Regions from separate parts of the Homo sapiens genome. Here regions 2, 3, 4, 5, 6 and 7 are each linked to region 1. Evidence: promoter capture Hi-C in 16 types of primary human blood cells and fetal thymus (Javierre and others, 2016). All regions are on one chromosome and are shown on one strand. The core of a region is centred on a gene start or on the middle of the fragment in contact, and the rest is flanking DNA. Distances in the headings are between cores, read along the strand shown. Region 1 holds the start of NVL (nuclear VCP like). Region 2 overlaps LOC105373281 (a long non-coding RNA gene). Region 3 holds the start of LOC105373281 (a long non-coding RNA gene). Region 4 overlaps TP53BP2 (tumor protein p53 binding protein 2). Region 5 overlaps CAPN2 (calpain 2). Region 6 overlaps LOC105373109 (a long non-coding RNA gene). Region 7 overlaps CAPN2 (calpain 2).

Region 1 (2,894 bases), core at 121-2,620:
CACAAATTCCACTTGGCCATTTTAATTTGGAGATATGCTGACTAGGCAGCTGGATATATCAATCTGTACTTCAAGATAAAATCTGGACTGGAGATATAAAGTTAGCAGTCATAAATATACAGAGGCCAGTGCAGCAGCTTGCACCGGTAATCCCAGCACTTTGGGAGGCTGAGGCCCGATCGCTTGAGCCCAGGAGTTAGAGACCAGCCAGAGTAACATAGTGGAACCCCGTCTCTACAAATAATAATAATAATAATAAATTAGCCAGGTGTGGTGGTGCACACCTGTAGTCCCAGCTACTGGGGAGGCTGAGGAGGGAGGATCACTTGAGTCAGGGAGGCCGAGGGTGCAGTGAGTTATGATTGTGCCCATAAACAGCCACTGCACTCTAGCCTGGGCAACAGAGCGAGACTATGTCTCAGAAAAATAAAAATAAAATGAAATAAATACATAGATAATAGAGTATGTAGATACTACTCAAAGGTTATTACACTAAATGAGATCACATAGGAAGTATGGATAGATAAGAAAGGTGTATGAGGAAAGAGGAGGAAGGGGAGGTAAGAGAACAGTGGCACAGAGCACTTCCAACATTTACAAGTTGGTAGGAAAAGATGGGTCCGAAAAGGAGATTGTTTAGGGGCTGGTGAAGTGAAAGAAAAACAAGGAGAATGTGTAGCTCACAAATTCCTAAGTGAAGAAAATTCTCTCCCACCTTTTAACTCAGACTGCTTGCTTACATTCTGAGGTATTTGCCACACACTGCTTTTTACTGATGGTCATGAAAATGAGAAAACCGTAGGCAAAGTGCCTGTTACTGTTGCCAGACCCATGTTATCTCGTTTTAGTGTGTAAGTTCCTTGAGAACGGAAATTAACATATTATTTATGCCACCCCTTCTCAAGGACCTCTTACAATGCGAGCGTTTGAAGACCATTCCTGTGCTAACTTCACAAGCCAAAGAGGTTAAAATTCAAAGGCTACCTCCACTCTACTGAATGATCTGCGCTGAAGACGACCAGACAACTTGGGCAGCCCTACCAAGCTGCACCCTCCCACCATCCCCGGCTTCTCCCTGAGACTCCGCACCAACGTGGGTAGGGAAGGCCCCGGCAGCACCAACTAAGGAGAAACAGACGCACGCCCAGACCCAGACTGGGGAAAGAAGACTAGTTGAGTTCCACCTGGATGCCACCCGACAAAAGGGGAGTGGCACCCTGGGGCAGCGATCGGGGCCCTTGGCGAGGCCAAGCGGTGCAGAATACACACCTGGATGACTCGCTGCTTGAGTTTATTATCCACGAACCCTGCAGGTCTGGGCTTCATCGCGTCGGTCTTCCAAGCCACAGCTCGGACCGCCAGCTCCTAGTCAACCGGGGGCCTCGTAGGGGTTGCCCGCCGCGATCGCCGGGCCAGTTGCACCTGAAATGCGCCCCTCCTGGGGCCTAGCCCGCGCCGTTTCCGTCAGAATAAAAGTAATGCGAATGAAGGGGAAAAAATTCCGAGGAGAGGGAGAAGACTTGAAAACCTCAGGGAGTTTCTAGGGGCCTTATTTTGCAGGCCTGCCCAGTGGACCCTGGAAGATTAGGACCCCTTTGAACGCGCTCAACTTTATTGGTTCCCCGCCGGGCGAACCAGGTGGGAGGAAGTTCCTACCCCGGCGCGGTGTGCGGAGACGCTGTCAACGGCGTCCTCTGGAAAACTTGGTTTGCTTTCCTCAGGCGTTCCAGCCACACCTCATTCTGATACAAAGCTAGTCTTCGCAAAACCAGCCACGGTAGATACTTGGAGTGATAAAATCAGGGTAAAAACACACCACCAGCCGCTGCTTGCTTTCCCACGTAGTTATCTTACATTTTAGAGGCCCGACAAAAGGGCTAGGTGAAAAAGAAAAGGAAGGACGGATTTATCCAGATAACTAAGTCATTTGTTACTTTTAGAACTCGTTTGACTTACGCTGTTATCATCGGCAGGTAATTTGTTGAATATATCCAGTGCAGGACTCCTTGGCCCAGAATTTTATCAAACGTTTGTATTTGCCCCAAGAAGTTTATCCTGCACTTAGGGAGACACAAAGGGACAGTTACCAAGCATTAAAAAAAAAATGCTGGCTTTAGTTTCTGTCTTCTTGTTTATTTCAACCGTGTTTTGAGTATTCTTATTTCAGGTCCTCCTTGGCTTATGACAAGGTTAAGTGCAGTGTATTAAGGGGCAGAGGGGAGAGAAAATGGAATTAAGAGAAGGGCGTGAGGCCGGGCACGGTGGCTCACACCTGTAATCCCAGCACTTTGGGAGGCCGAGGCGGGCAGATCACTTGAGGTCAGGAGTTCACGACCAGCCTGGCCAACATGGTGAAACCTTGTCTCTACTAAAAATATAAAAATTAGCACTGAATTAAGTATTAGATTTCCCACTCAAAATATTGATCCGTTTGGTTGCAACTTCATTTCCTACTTCTTCACTATGTGTAGTTTTATTTTTTATTTTTTTAGTTGTAAAATATAAGAACATTCACCATCTTAAACATTTTAAAGTGTGCAGTTTAGTGATAATACATTCATAATATGCAACCATCACTGCCATCTAGTTCCAGAACTCTTTTCATCTTGTACAACTAAAACTCTATACTAATTAAAAAATAACTCCCCATTCCTCCCTCCCCCCAGCCCCTGGCAACTACCATTCTACTTACTGTCTTTATGATTTTGACTACACTAACTTCCTCATATAAGTGGAATCTTCCAGTATTTGACTTTTGTGACTGGCTTGTTTCTTAGCTTAATGCCCTCATATAGCATGTGTTAGAATTTCCTTCTTTCTTTTCTTTTTTTTTTTTTTTTTTTTTTGATACAGAGTCTTGCTCTGTTGCCCAGGCTGGAGTGCAGTGGCGCAAT
Region 2 (2,878 bases), core at 123-2,622, 640 kb before region 1:
CCTTCTTGCATCTATAGGATTAGGTTTACTGCAGGGAAAAAAGGTAAGAGAAATATACATCATATGGGTTTTTGGAGGAAGAAAAGAGGCGACAGCACAAAATGGATGAGGTTTTCGTGTTGGGTGTCCTGCACACAGGACTCAGCAGCCCTGCCATGTATCTATCTGCCCAACTCTTTCCCATGGAGTTCATCTTGTGGGCCACTTCCAAATTATAGATCCACAGGCAAGTTTCACAGCTCTGTCGCTGTCACCTGTGGCAAGCTTCTCATAGTGCCTCTGTGGCTTAATGTCATGAGCCCCTCCATTGTGAGCATTCTGTTTAGGGTCCTGCACCATCACAGCCTGGCAATGAGCTTCAGATGTTTTGCCATAACCTTAGATTTAAGTCATCAAGCAGCAGGACCAAGACCTATCATGCATTTACTTTTGTTTTTGGCTTAATTTGAGTTGGTTTTTTTCCTTGTACAAAAAGAATCTCTGTACACAGACTCCTATTAATTTTTTTAATTAATAGTTTTATTTTTCAGAGCAGTTTTAGCTTTACAAAAAATTGAGAAGAAAGTAAGATGTTCACACACACACAGCTTCCCAATTATTAATGTCTCACACTAGTGAGGTACATTTGTTAAAATCGATGAACCTATGTTGACATGTCATTATCACTGTAGTTTACTTTAGGGTTCCCTCTTAGTATGGTATATTTTATGGGTTTTGACAAATATATGATAATATGTATCCACCATTATAGTATCAGACAGAGTATTTTCACTGCCCTAAAAATCCTCTGTGCTTTGCCTGTTCATCTACCCCTCACCAAACACCCAGAAATCTTTTTTTTTTACTGTCTCCATTGCTCTGCCTTTTCCAGAATGTCATATATTTGGAATTATATGTTATGTAGCCTTTTCAGACGGACTAGTGATATGGTTTGGCTGTGTCCCCACCCAAATCTCATCTTGAATTGTAGCTCCCACAATTCCCACATGTTGTGGGAGGGACCCGGTGGGAGGTAATTGAATCATGGGGAAAAATGATTTGAGCATCTATCATCACAAACAACCCCATTCTATCTCTAATAATGACTTTTGCGGGTCTTTGCAGTGCTGTTCTCATGATAGTGAATCAGTCTCACAAGATCTAATGGTTTTAAAAATGGGAGTTTCCCCGCACAAGGTCTCTCTTGTCTGCTGCCATATAAGATGTGCCTTCACCTTCTGCAATGATTGTGAGGCCTCCCCAGCCATGTGAAACTGTGAGTCAATTAAACCTCTTTTTCTTTATAAATTACCCACTCTCAGACATGTCTTTTTCAGCAGCATGAAAATGGACTAATACAACTTATTTCACTTAGTAATATGTATTTAAGTTTCTTCAATGTCCTTTCATAACTTGATGGCTCCTTCCTTTCTTGCTTTCTTTTTTTTAATTTTAACTATACAATAAAGCACTAAGCTAAAGAAATTAAACTATGGAATATCTATCTGCTGGCTGGTGGGGAAAATGTGAGGAGCCTGGAGCTTCCTGGAAACACACAATTTCCTCCACAATCTTCGCTGACCTTCCCTTGAGTTATCCCTCTTCCTTTTTAACATTCCTCTTGATTTGAGCCTCTATCATCACAAACAACCTCATTCTAACTCTAATAATGATTTTTGCCTTAAAGTATTATGTCTGATTTTAATATAGTTATGCCAGCTTCCTTCTCATACTGTTCACATAGTATATCTTTTTCCATCATTTTATTTTCAACCTTTCTATATCTGTATCTTTATGCATCATTCTGTTAATATATATCAATCCATCAGTGACTGATTCTCTGATTCCCTAATGTTTAAGCAATTTCCTTTTTTTTTTTTTTTTCTTTTTGAGACAGGGTCTTGCTCTGTCACCCAGGCTGGAGTGCAGTGGCACGATGATGTCTCACTGCAGCCTGAACGTCCCAGGCTCAAGTGATCCTCCCACCTCAGCCTCCCAAGTAGCTGGGATTACAGGCACACATTACCATACCAGGTTAATTTTTTTTTAATTTTTTGTATAGACAGAGTCTCACTATGTTGCCCAGCTGGTCTCAAACTCCTGGCCTCAAGCGATCCTCCCACCTTCACCTCAAAGTGCTGGAATTACAGGCGTGAGTCACCACACGAGGTCAATCTACTATTCTTGACCTCAGCTATTGGCTGTGATATATTATCATATATAGAGAGCTGGATTTGGTTTGCTACTGTTTTCTTCAGAAGAGAAAGCAGGATGTTGCTCAGCCTGGGAGGGTCATGCCCTTGGTTGAGTTAGCTCTCTGCAACTGAAACAAACTCTAAAGGATTTGAGACCTGGAAACTTTCTGCTAATCCCACCTCCCAAAGTTGGGGCAGTTCACATCCAATGACTGATAGAAGTAAGGTATAAAGACACAGACATTTTGGCTTAATCTAGCATCTCTGATGGGCCGTGTATGGTCCAGAACATCCCATAGGAATGGCCAAAGCTTTGTCACAATTGCATCACATTTTGACTTTTCCCTCTGCCCAAGACTGCTTCCTCCTCCTCTCATCCACGGATGTTGATTCCTAATAAATACTCTGTACACCAAGCACAGTCTCGGCATCTACTCCTGGAAAACCAGCAACAAGGTCAGCAGGGCTAGCTAGCTTCATGGGCAGCAACCTATGCAGTCATAAGGGCCCTGCTCCAAGAGGGGCCCCATGCTTAGGTTAATACTCTTGTCAACTAACGAGTGGTGAGGTTCATAAATTTTGAAATAAGAGGTTTATTTCTCATGAAGTGTTGCAATCTGCAAGGTGGCCATTCCTACAGGCTGGGAAGTGTAGCCTGTGACAGAAGTCAGAAGCAGGTACTTCGAGGCAGGGATGGATAAAAC
Region 3 (2,732 bases), core at 15-2,514, 620 kb before region 1:
TGTCAGCTGCTCTGCTGGGCCTCTGTTTACTCATCCATTAAATGAGGAGATAAGATCTCCCTTGACTGGCTGTGAAGATTAAGTGCACAAATATGTGTAAAGTGCACAAATATGTCAAATAAAAACTGAGACTGACACGTGGAGGTGCAAAATTAAAAAGGAAGCTTTGGTTAGTATCTCCAGAACCTGGCTAGGCACGGTGGCTCACATCTGTAATCTCAGCGCTTTGGGAGGCCGAGATGGGTGGATCACCTGAGGTCAGGAGTTCAAGACCAGCCTGGACAACATGGCGAAACCCCGTCTCTATTAAAAATACAAAAATTAGCTGGGCATGGCAGTGAGCCCCTGTAATCCCAGCTACTCAAGAGGCTGAGGCAGGAGAATTGCTTGAACCCGGGAGGCGGAGGTTGCAGTGAGCCGAGATCACGCCACTGCACTCCAGCCTGGGTGACAGAGTGAGACTCCACCTCAAAAAAAAAAAAAAAAAAATCCAGAACCTGCAGATTGTGCCTCTGATGCATCTCAAACATCCAGGGCCAGGGAGAAAATAATCTAAAGAAAAATACTACTGAAAAAGATTCCATTGCCATGGCCCTCTGAGACACACACATTCTTATTCTCTTATTTTCTCTCTCTCTCTCTCTTCTTCTCTCTCTCTCTCTTTCTATCTCTCTCTCTCACTCCCTCTCTCATTTACTCACAAGGTCAGTGGCCCAGACCCAGGCAGTTCTGGATAATCCCAGCTGTTTCTGACTCACCACCATCCTCAGGGCTGGCTGACTCACTCCAGGAAGGTTTTCCACCATGAAGTGTTTGTCTATGTCCTTGTGTTCCCGTGAAAAGGATTGTGTGGTCAGAGAAAGAGAAGACTTTGCTGGGTCAGTGAGATAGCATAGTGTGAGAGGCTTTGGGAAGTAGAAAAAGCAACATTAACTCAGGTTTAAAAACTAGACTTTGTCCAAATGGTTGGGGAAAGTAGTCATTGTATGTGTTTGCAATTAAATTTGGGTGGCATAGGACAGCCTAAAGCCCTTTGTAAGCAGAGCTCTATGTGCGCAGCGATCCCTAGAAGGCTGGCAAGGGGAGTGGCCAGGGCTGCACCAAAGAGGGTGTTGCCTAGCTGGGGAAGAGGAACTTCAGGTGAGCCAGGAGGCTCTTCTGCTCCCAGGCTGTGCAAAGCTTCTGAGTTGACTGGAATGATAGGTCTGATCTGCCCATTTGTTGCTAAAATGACTTAGGAGGGAAATGACCTCCACCTGCCTGGGAGGAGTCACTTCCTCCAGAGATGAGCTGTCCTTGAGGAGATCAGTGGGAGGAGAAGCCTGCGCTCTGCCCCACTGGGCAGAAGGACAAGCTTTCTCCCAAGAGCCTCGAGCCCAGAAGAAGTCGGGGTGGGGCCAATGGAAATCAGACAGTGGAACAAATGAACAGCTTCCAGGACAGGGCTGTCGCTTTCCTCTGTTTTCAATTGTGATGGCTTCATGAAACCCTTGCACCAGAAACCCATGAGCTAGAAATGAATGCCTGTATCCCCATCTCTGGACTCAGAGTCCAGAGTGCCAACCATTACACAATGGAACCTGTGTCCCCGCCTTATTCAAGAGTAAAGAAAGCAAAGCCTGGTGGTGGACGGTGGTACCTGCCCATCAGGCAGCATGCCCAGACTTGCAAACCAGAGATGGAGGATGTCAAATAAAAACAAAACCATGGGAGACTGAGGCAGGAGAATCACTTGAACCGGGAGGCGGAGGTTGCAATGAGCCAAGATCGCGCCATTGCACTCCAGCCCGGGCAACAAGAGTGAAACTCTGTTTAAAAAAAAAAAAAAATCCAGACTTTTATAAAGGGACACTTCAATAGAAAGAAAGACTATTGCAGGCCAGGCGCAGTGGCTCACACCTGTAATCCTAGCACTTTGGGAGGCCAAAGCAGGTGGATCACCTGAGGTCAGGAGTTCAAGACCAGCCTGGCCAACATGAGGAAACCCCGTCTCTACTAAAAATACAAAAAAATTAGCTGCACATGGCGGCTGGTACCTGTAATCCCAGCTACTCAGGAGGCTGAGGCAGGAGAATCACTTGCACCCGGGAGGCGAAGGTTGCAGTGAGTGGAGATTGCACCACTGCACTCCAGCCTGGGCAACAAGAGTGAAACAAGAAAGAAAGAGCGAAAGAGAGAGAGAGAGAGAAAGAGAGAAGGAGAGAAGGAGAGGAAGGGAAGAAGGGAGGGAGAAAGAAAGAAAAAATAGAGAAAAAGAGAAGGAAGGAAGGAAAAGAAAGAAAAGAGAAGAGAAAAGAAAAAAAAAGAGAGAAAGACAATTCCAATTCAGAGAATCTGCAAGCAGCTCAAAATCAAACAGAAAAAGATTCTTCTTTTCTAGGGTAAAGGAGGAGCAAGTGGAGATAAGCAGACTCTTGGGAGGGGAAGCTGGACAAGTGAGGGGAAATGACCAGTGGGAGCTGACAGGAAAAGGGTCTTGCTGTGTTCAGTCAATTCCCAGGAGAAGCTGGGCAGGGAAGTGACTTGGCAGGGACACTCCACTTTGTTTGTGCTTGTTCAGGCTTGGGGGCAAGCAGCATTCAGGGATCTGTAGGAAAGAGAGAAGTCTGACCAAAGTTTTGTCAAGCAAAGGGGGTAAGCAATGGGTGTCAGAGACAAGAATAGATGGGGGCAGAGGAATAATAGTGACAAAAATACTTGCTTTAAGAAAAGGTAACATCATGGCTCTCATA
Region 4 (2,970 bases), core at 180-2,679, 550 kb before region 1:
TAGGTTTTCCTCAACAACTCGGAAGCATGCCAAGGCAATGGCATTAAACTCCGCAGATGAGGGAACAAGGCTCAGGGAGGTCGGGTGTCCTTGGCAAGGTCACCTGATGGGTAAGTACGACAGCCCAGGACTAGAATCCATGTTGTTTCCTGTAGTTGTAACAAATTAAGACAAATTTAGTGGCCTAAAAAAATAGCCATTATCTCACAATTCTGTAGATGAGAAGTCCAACGCTGGTCTCATTGGACTAATGCATTCCTTCTGGAGACCTGGGGAGGATTCATTTCCAGCCAGGCCCACTCAGGTTAGCAGAGTTCAGTTCCATGTGGCCATCAGGACTGAAGTCCCCATCTCCTGGATGGGCCAGCCGGGGGTCTTTCTCAGCTTCCATGTTCCCTGACCCCCACATTCCATGATCCTCTTCATCTTTAAAGCCAATGACAGCAGGTCAAGTCTTCACACTCCAAGTCTTACTGCCCACCCACCTGCCCCGCCCACCCTCCTGCCTCAGCCCTCCTGCCTTCCTCTCCTGCCGTGAAGGGATCTTGTGATTACGGTGGCCCACCAGGACAATCTAGGCTAAACACCCTATTTTAAGGTCAACTGATTCGTAAACTTACTTAAATCTTAAAAGTCCTTCAAAGCAGTACAGTAAGTCGTCAAAACCTAGCATCACGGATAGGTTCTTGGTAACTGCAAATTAGAGCAAAATGATGTAAAACCAACCAACCAGAAACAGCAGGTCCTCGAATAACATCACTTCATGTTGTACCATTAGAACACTGATGAGAAAAAGAAATGGTTTTGTTACACACCTTTTCACTTTGAGTTTTGGCCAGGTGCAGTGGCTCACACCTGTAATCCCAACGCTTTGGGAGGCCTAGGTAGGAGGACCACTGGAGGCCAGGCATCAGAGACCAGCCCGGGCAGCATGACAAGACCCTGTCTCCCAAAAAAAAAAGAAAAGGAAGGAAAGAAAAGAAAAATAAAGTCACAGTTTCCAAGAACCTAATGATGATGTTAAGTAAGGACTTATTGTACCTACATTAGTGATACAAGGAATAACCAGGAGACAGGGATGGGGGTGCAGGGCATCTTTAGAATTCTGCCTACCACACGTCTTCGGATGTTTAGTTTATGTTGTCACTCCTTCTCCGTTACTCTCAAAAGTGTTATTCTCAAAATTATGTTCTTTCATCTACCTTCCTTGCTAGAATTTAGCTACTCATAAAAATGTGTAAGGAAGAGTGACCATGGTTTTTCATTTGTATCTTCTACTAAAGTAGTTCCACTAAGCAAATGGGTTTGGAAACAATTCACAAACCTATTAACATATTAATAAAATGATGTGGAGATTTTGCCTATATAAGTTTTCACCCCATAAATCAATGAGGACACTAAAACAGTCTATTAGAGGCTCTAGGTAAAATGTAAAGTAGGCTTCTATCACCATGATCTCTACAGTATTTTATTTTAAAAACCACTTACATTGAATCACTTAGCTGGTAAAAAACTCTTATTACGATACATATACTTATGTTAAGCAGTTTGTTCTTTTTCAGCTGGGTATGATATCCCAACGGCTTGTGACTATTAAACAAGGTCTATTTATGACATCAAAAACAAAAACCAGTAAACAGCTAGCATCAAAAAGTTTATTACAACTGTTTTTAAAGTCAGCTATGATCTTGACAAATATTACGGGTAAGTCTGTAGCAAGTTTCTAATTTCTGAGATACAAAAGACAATAAATACAGATTAAAATTCAGCCTACAAACAAGATTCTACATCTAATTACTGGTACCGTAGCTTAGTTTCAATATTTCAAACATATGTATAATTCTTAAGATGCTACAAAAACTCATATAATAAAGTTATTGTTCACTGACAACCAACTAACAGTTCTTCACTGACAATATACAAGTGTGCAGTGCCTTCGAGCCTTCAGGTGAGCCCCCCAAGGGCCTGCTGGTGCCGGGGACAATCAGAGACAGCGATGTGACGGCACTGGTCCTTTCTGGCAGGAGGACTGGTTTAGGAGCAGCTGCTGAAAACACTCAACAGGACAGAGAGCTGATTTCCCAACTGCCCAATAAATGATCCTATTTACTAGACAGGATTCTTGTAGAAAACAGGATTGTCGCTGTATACTTATCTGAGTGCTACACGGGACACCTTTGCCCCAACACAGTATGGCCTGCTGACGTAGATGCTTTATTTCATCACGCTAAATGTCCTCTAATGGTGAATTCTTCAATCCTTCATTCTCTTCTAGAGACATTCTTCATCGCTTTCAAGCTACATTGTCATTAAAATAAGTCTTGTGAAATTTTTGCCAAAAATAATCGTATTACTTCTTCTTAACAGAGATTAATTCTTCATTGACTAAAATTCTGTGTGGAAGTTTCAGGCCAAGCTCCTTTGTCTTGGTTTAATTCTTGGGTACAGCTGCAAGAGAGTTTAAAAAATTTTACATACTATAATAGATGTGTGGGAATATAACAAAATTTCAAGAAATAATGAGGTTAGGGGACAGATGTCATGGGAAGGAAATCAAAGTGAGAAAAGCACTCTTTGTGGTGTGTGTGGCACCTAGAGCTTTACGTTTAGCAACGTGGTCATAGCTAGACTCAGCAGGACGTTCAAAGATCACAAGGGCCCGTCAACTGTGACAACTCTACAAAGCAGCAATATAAAAACCCATGACAGTTCTAGGTATTAACTCAATCTGCACAGCTTGTTGAGCTGTAAATCGGCTCTATGTAAATCGGCTCTAACAAGGAAGGCAAACTGCTGTATGCTCTATGCTCCAGCATTTGGAGCTTCTATTAGGAAGGAAGAAAGAGACTGAATTCTTTTACCTTTATTCACAATGGACATGACATTGTGTCATGGGACTTCAGACTGTCAGAAATGAAATGCCACAGATTAAAAGTCTATAAATTTAAGGAAGATTAGGTGGAGTTTTTT
Region 5 (2,795 bases), core at 98-2,597, 580 kb before region 1:
CCACTTTAGAGCAGCAAGTGGATTTCTGTTTCTTACAGTCCCAATCCAGGAAGGAGGAGTCAGCTGTGAGAACCTGGAGCCTGACGGATGCTTCTAAGTCCCACTGCTCAATACTGGGGTCAGGGAAGCCACCGGACTCCAGCATCAGCAGTCAGGAGCACTAAGCCCTTGCCAACACCGTGCCTGTTTCTCAGAGAAACTGCTTCCATTATTGAATGGTTGTCCTTTTTTAAGCTATCAATGCCAAACGACCCATTAGTAGACCTCCCCTTTCTTGTCAGGATGTAGAAGGAATCAATACAGGAGGTTCATCCAGAAAATCACTAAGGTCCTTCCGACTCTAAGGTTCTACGAGAATCTTTTTTTTTTTTTTTTTTTTTAATACGGAGCCTCATTCTGTCACCCAGGCTGGAGTGAGCGGCATGATCTCAGCTCACTGCAATTTCCACGTTCTGAGTTTCAGCAATTCTTTTGCCTCAGCCTCCCAAGTAGCTGGGACTACAGGCATGCACCACCATGCCCAGCTAATTTTTTTGTATTTTTAGTAGAGATGGTGTTTTGCCATGTTGGCCAGGCTGGTCTTGAACTCCTGACCTCAAGTGATCCGCCCACCTCGGCCTCCCAGAGTGCTGGGATTACAGGCATGAGCTACCGCGCCCGGCCTGAGATTTTCTTTAAAACACAAAATACCAGGGAAATGGTAACTGTGGACATTATACCTTGCCTTCCTGAGCACCCCGAGCTGGGAACAAGGCCAAGGAGAATGTGAGCAGGGGGTCCCTGGAGCATCAAATCTAGACGGTACTAGGGGGTGGCTGTTTGAGAGATTATAGCATCAGTAGTGTCAAGGGTAGCGGCAGCGTCTAATCCCCTCTTGTAGGATCAACGGATGCTATGAAGCGCTATCAGGGGGTGCCACCACTGAGGGCTTCGAAGACTTCACCGGAGGCATTGCTGAGTGGTATGAGTTGAAGAAGCCCCCTCCCAACCTGTTCAAGATCATCCAGAAAGCTCTGCAAAAAGGCTCTCTCCTTGGCTGCTCCATCGACGTAAGTCCAGGCTGCCTTCCCTAGCCTCACCCCATCTGCTCTTGCTGAAGGGAGGCTCCCACAGTGCCCAAGGGAACCCACTGCTCCTGTGTACAACGTAATGCAGCCCTCGTCCACGTAGGGGCCAAAGGAAAACCTCCCTCCACCCTCTGAAGGTCCGCTGAAAATCAACTGGCAAAAGGAAGACTAATACAAGAAATGGCATACAAATGTATGAATGTGGACAGGGGAGAATCACAAGAGATTTCCCTACCACGCATTGGGATACAGAGGGTTATATTCCCTTCCTCTTAGGGGAAGGGAGATGGGGAGGTGCGGATGATTTTAGGGATGTCGTAAATGATTTTTAGGGGAATTCATTGGGCTTAAAGAACATAAATGGTCTGGGATAAAGTCTGTTGGGCCTGCAGAGCAGACAGTGGTTTGTGACAAGTCTGTCTAGCCATGTTGACAGACTTGTCTTTCTTCCTGCAATATGAGTTCAGTTCATAATAACTCATGGAAAGGACCAGACGTCATTGTTTTCATCTTTGGCAGGTCCAGACTTTAGGCAGGTGAGGGAACTTCAGAGAATAGCTTCCTCCTGTGCTTTGGGGGAGAGTGGATCGAGAGACAGAAGGAAAGGGGAGGTCAGAGAGATCTTGAGGCTTCTTCAGTTTAGCATTTCAAAGTGCCATCTCTTAGAGGTATTGGTTTCTGAGCACCCCAGTGTCTACCATTATTGCTCATCACCTGGAAGCCAAGGGTTGCTAGGCAAAAGTCAAGCTGTCTGGGGTGTAATGGATGGGGTGATGGTGCCTCCAGCCCTTCTGTCTTCAGTCCACTTCCCACTCTTAGCCTGCTCTGAATCACCCCCACCCCTCTGACCACAGGTTCCCTGGGAGCCCCTGCCACCTGCTGCCCCTGCCACCTTCCCCTCCATCTGCAGTGCTGTGCAGCCTTCCCCTGCACTCTTGCAGAGCTAATAGGCCCGTGGGAGACTTCGGAAGGAAGAGGAGGAAAGATTTCCTCATAATAGCCTTGCTGGCAACGCTCACCAGGGGATGGGAGGTGGGCACTGTGCCCAGGAGCCTTGGAGCAAAGGCTGTGCCCAACCTCTGAGCCCTGTCCCATCCAGGTTCTGGTCTCTGCGGGGGACAGAGATAAGAAGCCCTGGCTTTTGGAGCCAAAATCTAGGTCAGACTCCCTAGGCAGGAATTCTCAAAGTTTATCAGCAGAACACGTTGAGGCAGAAGACCCTTTCTGCTCCAGCCCTTCTTCCCAGGCTCAACCTTCATCAGAATAGATAGGGGAAAGGAGAGGCTGTGAGGCGTTCTTAAAACAGAAGCAAATTCTGACTCAGACCGGAATAAACAACCGTCCTAGTATAAACCCTACAGCTGGGCTGGGCCAGACCACGGAGCATGGGCTGGTGGTGGGGCGAGGGTGTGCTCAGTGTCCCTGGGCCACTCAAGGCTGTCTGGGTATCAGCCCTGCGCCATCGAGGACCCCCTCCGGCCCTCTCTCGGCCGTGCGCCCTTTCCCTGCGCCATCGAGGACCCCCTCCAGCCCTCTCTCGGCCGTGCGCCCTTTCCCGCCCTTCCCAGCCTGCAGAAATCCGTGGATGCGCTATTCACACGGGAATGCCTGTGCTCGTTCCGCGAGAGGGTTGCATTCCGCCTTTTCTCTGGTATTCTCGGCGTTCAAGCATTTGAACGGGGTAGGAAAGGTTCTCCAAGTGCAAGAAAGCGCAGCCCTGAGCCTCCC
Region 6 (2,815 bases), core at 42-2,541, 580 kb after region 1:
TTATCAGTCAACTGAATTCATTTCTTCTTAAACCTTTAATTATAGGCACTCCTTTGTTCTGCTTCTCTTTTGATGACATAATTTTTGCCAATGATAATGTAAAACTTCCTTGACCTTTTGGAAATCTTGAATTCTCCCTCTATGAAATGTAAATTTGCTATCCTATTTTCTCTAAAATTCAGTAAAAGCTTTGGACATAACTTGTTCCATTTACAGAGGTACAATTTAATCCAAGTGTTCTTTTAAATGAGTGAGTTTTACTTGTCTTATGGCAGAAATTATAAAATCTATACTATAAAATATTTATTTTGTATTTTTACTATACATATATGCATGTCTGTGTTTGTATATTGCCTACCTGGTACCAAATTGACTTGTAAATAAATGAGTACTCATAAATTAAGTAAATATGTGCAAAAACTTTTCAAGTTCACATGACTTTAGTAATCTTTGATAAATAAAGCTAGTTTTAAAATTGCTGATAAAATAAAACTTGAATGTCTTCAGAACAGTCAGTATTAAATACAATTCAGACATTTTGCCTGGGACTACTGGTCAGAAAGGTTTAGACTGTCTCTGATAGAAGTTTTCAGGTCATAAAACTGTTGTTTTCTGTGACATTTTTGATAGCTGTTTGGTTTATCTATGATCTTATGTGTTTAGTTTTGAGCCTTCAGATTGTAAGGTCTAGACAAGTGCCCATAGTGAGGTCTGGTGACTTAGGCCACCCCAGCTTTGGTACAGAGCCAAGCCCAGGATGTCCTCCCTGACTCGGCTGTGCCTTCTAGCCATGCTGGGAGGAATCAGATCCTCCAGGACTTGTCTTCACAGCCTTCTCTGTCCTGGGTTCTACACCTGGTACATAACAATTAAAATTGCTTACTTCCTAGGTTTTTCAGTAAGAATTAGGGTTACTAAGAGTTAACATTGTAATTAATATATGTGATTAAAACTACTAGATGTAAGAGAAACTATTCTGTATATAAAGTGTAAAAGAAAAATAGGATGTGTTTTGGTAAAGAAAGTTTTCTAAAAAGATGTTAAAATGTTTAACAGATAAGTAAGTTTGCCTGGCTTAAAGGTGATGTAAAAGTTATTTAAATTAAAAAAGATAAACTAAACATATATAAAAAACTGGGGAAAAAGAAAATGGGAAAAATTGTAATAGGTTATAAAAGGCTTATGAAAATCTTATGCTGTGTGATCAAAGCTGATCAAGATTCGATGGATCTGTATATAAGGTTTTATTAAAATTAGATTTAATAATAATACATTGATACAAGGGTTACATTTGTTTTTTTCTTCTGAACAATATTTTCATATAGTATTAATAAGATATAGTAAAATATTTTTGTTCACCTTTTCAGTAAATTGCAAAATTTTTAAAAGGAGAGGAGAATGGGAGAGATAATCTGATGCTGCCTTTATTAGGTCTTTTGATTGGAAAACTGAGTTGCTGCTCTATTGAGTAAAAGTTTTTGCTTTCTGAAATCTTTGAATTATCACTTTAGCTAAATAGATGACTATTATTTTAGAGTGACCTGTGATTTATTTTAATATCAAGTGTCTTCAACCTTTGATATTTGACATACCTCCCAAAAACAAAATTCAAATTCTAAAATTGAGTCTTTTTGACCTCAAAGTAACTCTTGGACATTCAAAAAAATGGAGGGCTCTTGAAAATCCAAGAGGGACATATTAGGCTTATTGGGATGTTAAAGGGATGTTAAAATCATATGGGAAGTATTATCCAATAAGAAATGGTGTTTGACTTTCTTTGAATTATCTTTGTGTGGATGTTATTAATGTATGCTCTCCAAAATTGTATGAGGTTTTATAAAAATCTGATATGTCTTGATATATGCAGTAAATCACTTTTTATCCTCAAACCTTTTTGCAAATGCTAAAGCATTGTGTCTTCAAGGAAATTAATGGAAAGGACTATGACAAGTACTCTTGAATACAGGTTTCTGATAACTTTGGAGATTATACCATTGGATGAGGTAAAAACATTCAGAACTCTAATAAAAAACTGATGGGTTTATAAACATTGCTAACCCAATTTCAAACACAGCAAAAGTTAATTACATAGGACTGAATGACAGAAGACTGAAATAATTTGTTATGACTTCATTTTGTTTGAAATACTGCTGATTGTTTTTATATTTTGCTTTCTAGAGTCAATACATTTTTTAAGCTATTTATAGTTTACAGCAATTGAGTAAAGTATACTTTTGTGAGAAAAATTGAAACATTTACCTTTCTCTCTACCTGATTTCTCTAGAATTTGAAAATTGTATTCTCATTTTATTGCAATGTGGCTATTTGTATAAGTTCAATAAGAATCTCTTTTCCTTTTGTAACAGGACACATTGGAAACACTGGTTATTTTACTAAAGCTTTGAATGGAATGTCATATTTTCAAGTTTGAGCAGACTGCTTTGAGGGATTAATGTTGACTTTATAAAACCAAGACTTGGAAAAAATGGCCTGGTACCTTGTCTATATTTTTCCTTTGCAGGATCCTGACCTTGGGGTAAGTAATGCCACTTTCTGATAGGCACAGAAACCTCAAGATATTTGGGGATCTTTGGAAGACAGGCTATTTTGGGACCTTTGGAAGATAGGAATTCAACTGATTTATGAGCTGTCCTCAACCTTGCCCCAAATAAACTCTCTGTATCAACATTGCCTCAGGTTTTTTCTTTTGGTCAACACTTAAAAGTCATCTTATCCTTAGAAACTCTTGCCCTTCTAGAGTAATTATTTTATATACTAAAAATTGATCTGCATCAAAAATATTACTGCTCTAAAG
Region 7 (2,933 bases), core at 236-2,735, 610 kb before region 1:
TTAATTTTGATGACCTTGACAGTTTTGGGGAATATTGATCAGAGATTTTGTAAGATGCCTGTCTATTGGAATTTGTGGTGCCTTTTTAATAAGTATGCAGTGGCTCACACCTGTAATCCCAGCACTTTGGGAGGCTGGGGCAAGAGGATCGCTTGAACCCGAGTTTGGGACCAGCTTGGGCAACATAGCAAAACTCTGTCTCTACAAAAAAATTACCTGGGCTTGGTGGCACATGCCTGTCGTCCCAGCTACTCGGGAGGCTGAAGCAGGAGGATCACTTGAGCCCAGGAGGTAGAAGCTGCTGTGAGCCGTGCACTCCAGCCTGGTTCTGGAGCCACTGCACTCCAGCCTGGGCAACAGAGGGAAAACTTATCTCAAAAAGTAAATAAATAAGTACCCATGTAGTTAAAATGTTTAAAGACTAGCAAATAGATGTTGGCTGGTTTGATGGAGAAAGTAAATCCATTCTTTTTCTTAAAAATGATCTCTTCACCACCAGTCCCAGCACCCCCCTTACCAGCCTCCCAGGGCACTGTCCATGGCTACATTGTCCATGGGCCATCATGTCCCCTCGGCTTCTCTTCTGGTTGTAAATGCTCTTGCACTTTTCTCCCTTGTGGCTGCCGTCCACACTCCCAGCTGCCTTCCCTCTGCACTTAAGATCTAAGATCTTAGAGACGAGATGAGACATCTCTTGCCTTCGTGCATCTAAGACAGCTCATCAACAGGTCCAGGTGAACTGCTAACACTGCTGTGTTGCTTGGAGGCCCCTGTCCCACCCTGGCTGCCTCAGCTTTGGCCATGGTACCCACGGTCTCCAGCTACATCAGATGCCTGAAGAACAAATCTCTCCTTAGCTCTCCCTGCCCCCTCTCCAGGAATAGGAGCAGTGGGACCCCCTTCAAGAATCCCCCATTTCCCATATACTTTCCTGCAAAGCCACAGGGCGTGCAAAGTGGGATTCCAGGGCTCCAGCCTGCTCCCCATGGGCCTCTGGATCCAGGGGTGACTCTTTGCCTGTTTGGGTGCCTCTTTAGATTTTCCACCAGCTTCCTGTGGCCAGGAGCCAGACCACGCCCCTATACGGCCATAGTTGTCTTATCTTGTCTCTGAGATTAGAAGGTTGGAACAGATTTTCCTGATGCCCCACTACTTCTGACATTCTGTGACTTTAGAATGTTACCTTCCTCGACAGCCCCCTGCACCCTCACACATCTGGCTTTAGCTGGACTGGTGTTTGTGAGGAATTATATCTCCACCTTGTTCAGCACCAGTCCCCAAGAAGACCAGCCAAGGGACACTCATCTGGGGATTTGAGAAATGAAGGACCGTGGGTTCCATGAGGTCTGTTGGGGTCCTGGCTAGCAACACTGTCTGGATGATTGAGCCCCAGGAGGAGGTGGCCTGGCCAGCAGGTGTGCAGTGAGGCCACTTCTAGACCACCCCTGTCCCATAGAGCTTCTAGTGATGATGGAAACCGTGTATATCTGCACTGCTCCAAACAGCAGCACTAGCCCTGTGTGGCTGTGGAGCACTTGAAATATGACTCATGCAACTGAGAAACTGAATTTGTAATTTTATTTAATTTAAATGTAAATAGCCACATGTTCCTTGTGGCTGCTGCACTGCACAGCAGCAGACTGTTGCGCTCTGGAATCCAGCCTCTCAGCCTTTACTCTCCAAAGCGGGATAGTATTCACATCAGAGCCAAACAATGCACAGACGTCAATAAACAGGCAGGGCATGGTGGCCCATGCCTGTAATCCCAACACTTTGGGAGGCTGAGGTGGGAGGGTCCCTTCAGCCCAGGAGTTCAAGACCAGCCAAGCAACATAATGAGAACCCATTTCCACAAAAAAAAATTTTTTTAATTAGCTGGGCATGGTGGTGTGCACCTGTAGTTCCAGCTACTTGGGAGGCTGAGGTGGGAGGATCACTTTGAGCCCAGGAGGTCAAGGCTGCAGTGAGTCGTGATTGCACCATGACATTCTAGCCTGGGTGATGGAGTGAGACCTTGTCTCAAAACAAACAGCTAAACCTACATCAATAAACATCTGTAAATATCAGGGTAGCGAATGAGGACTTGGTGTCTGGCAGTTAGGGACTGGCCTCTTATTCTGCCACATACTGGCTCTGTCATTTTGAGTGGATCACTATCCTCTTCACACCTCAGTTTCCTCATCCGTGAAATGAAGATAATAATAGTGCCTACTATCAAGACCATCCTGGCTAACACGGTGAAAACCCATCTCTACAAAACTACAATATGAAATACAAACAATTAGCCGGGCGTGGTGGCATGCACTTGTAGTCCCAGCTACTCAGGAGGCTGAGGCAGGAGAATCGCTTGAACCTGAGAGGTGGAGGTTGCAGTGAGCCATGATCGCACCACTGCACTCCATCCTGGGCAATAGAGCGAGACTTCATCTCAAAAAAAAAAAAATTGTGTCTACCTCAGAGGACTGTAAAGATGAAATGAAATAATAGACATATAAAGCTCAGAGCTCCAGAGGCTGGTACATAGTAAAGGTTTAATCCATGCAGATTGCACGTTCTCTTTGGGGACAGTACAGCTGGAGGGGAGTACTGTCAAATGAGGTCGCGTCGCTGAGGTGGAGACACATTGTGGCACATCTTGAATACCCGACTGGGTCCCAGCTTTAGCACTTGACATTGGCGGCCACCTAAGTTTTGGAGAGGGGTATGACAGAGGAGGTGGTGTCCCAGGGGGAAGGTCCGGAAACTCAGAGGAGTTTCCTGCTGTAATTTTCTTTGGTCACACAATGGTCATGGCCTCCTGATGTTTCCCACAAAGGGCCAGAGGCCCTTCAGTGCCAAGGAACGTGGACTCTCTCCTATCCCAGCACATACACGTGCTTCCAGTACCTTGTGATCTCTAGCCATAAGTTTCCACTCACCCATCTGCGAAATGG

What was found. Contacts are between HindIII fragments. The CHiCAGO score rates a contact against its expected background, and 5 or more counts as called.
Region 2: a fragment that was not itself captured here is called in contact with the fragment with the promoter of NVL in region 1 in 1 of 17 cell types (total B cells); the score reaches 5.1 in total B cells.
Region 3: a contact is called between a fragment that was not itself captured here and the fragment with the promoter of NVL in region 1, in 14 of 17 cell types (total B cells, naive CD8 T cells, erythroblasts and 11 more). The highest score is 11.6, in total B cells.
Region 4: a fragment that was not itself captured here is called in contact with the fragment with the promoter of NVL in region 1 in 1 of 17 cell types (M2 macrophages); the score reaches 5.7 in M2 macrophages.
Region 5: a contact is called between a fragment that was not itself captured here and the fragment with the promoter of NVL in region 1, in 7 of 17 cell types (monocytes, total B cells, naive CD8 T cells and 4 more). The highest score is 9.1, in monocytes.
Region 6: a contact is called between a fragment that was not itself captured here and the fragment with the promoter of NVL in region 1, in 1 of 17 cell types (M2 macrophages). The highest score is 5.4, in M2 macrophages.
Region 7: a fragment that was not itself captured here is called in contact with the fragment with the promoter of NVL in region 1 in 3 of 17 cell types (erythroblasts, M0 macrophages and monocytes); the score reaches 6.5 in erythroblasts.

The regions. Positions count from the first base shown.
Region 1 is chr1:224,328,802-224,331,695 of GRCh38, forward strand. NVL (nuclear VCP like) reads right to left here and starts at 1,371. Exons shown (of 23, transcript NM_002533.4): 1 at 1,270-1,371. The coding sequence starts at 1,326. RefSeq lists enhancers at 939-1,078, 1,129-1,178, 1,369-1,418, 1,439-1,588. The HindIII fragment of the contact is 14,633 bases long and covers 1-2,894 here.
Region 2 is chr1:223,686,231-223,689,108 of GRCh38, forward strand. All of the region lies in intron 2 of LOC105373281 (a long non-coding RNA gene), which reads right to left. Among named protein-coding and RNA genes, the nearest start is that of CAPN8, 22 kb to the left of the region's middle. The HindIII fragment of the contact is 2,221 bases long and covers 263-2,483 here.
Region 3 is chr1:223,706,610-223,709,341 of GRCh38, forward strand. LOC105373281 (a long non-coding RNA gene) reads right to left here and starts at 1,041. Exons shown (of 3, transcript XR_949164.2): 1 at 759-1,041. It also overlaps a transcript of CAPN2 not described here. RefSeq lists enhancers at 50-1,249, 1,250-1,749. The HindIII fragment of the contact is 175 bases long and covers 1,178-1,352 here.
Region 4 is chr1:223,778,447-223,781,416 of GRCh38, forward strand. TP53BP2 (tumor protein p53 binding protein 2) reads right to left here. Exons shown (of 18, transcript NM_001031685.3): 18 at 1,447-2,448. The coding sequence ends at 2,407. Among named protein-coding and RNA genes, the nearest start is that of TP53BP2, 66 kb to the right of the region's middle. The HindIII fragment of the contact is 5,248 bases long and covers 1-2,970 here.
Region 5 is chr1:223,746,117-223,748,911 of GRCh38, forward strand. CAPN2 (calpain 2) reads left to right here. Exons shown (of 21, transcript NM_001748.5): 5 at 881-1,049. Among named protein-coding and RNA genes, the nearest start is that of CAPN2, 35 kb to the left of the region's middle. RefSeq lists a silencer at 1,991-2,285. The HindIII fragment of the contact is 6,197 bases long and covers 1-2,795 here.
Region 6 is chr1:224,913,879-224,916,693 of GRCh38, forward strand. The region is part of intron 1 of LOC105373109 (a long non-coding RNA gene); the gene reads right to left. Among named protein-coding and RNA genes, the nearest start is that of DNAH14, 14 kb to the right of the region's middle. The HindIII fragment of the contact is 2,211 bases long and covers 187-2,397 here.
Region 7 is chr1:223,722,953-223,725,885 of GRCh38, forward strand. All of the region lies in intron 2 of CAPN2 (calpain 2), which reads left to right. Among named protein-coding and RNA genes, the nearest start is that of CAPN2, 12 kb to the left of the region's middle. The HindIII fragment of the contact is 6,664 bases long and covers 1-2,933 here.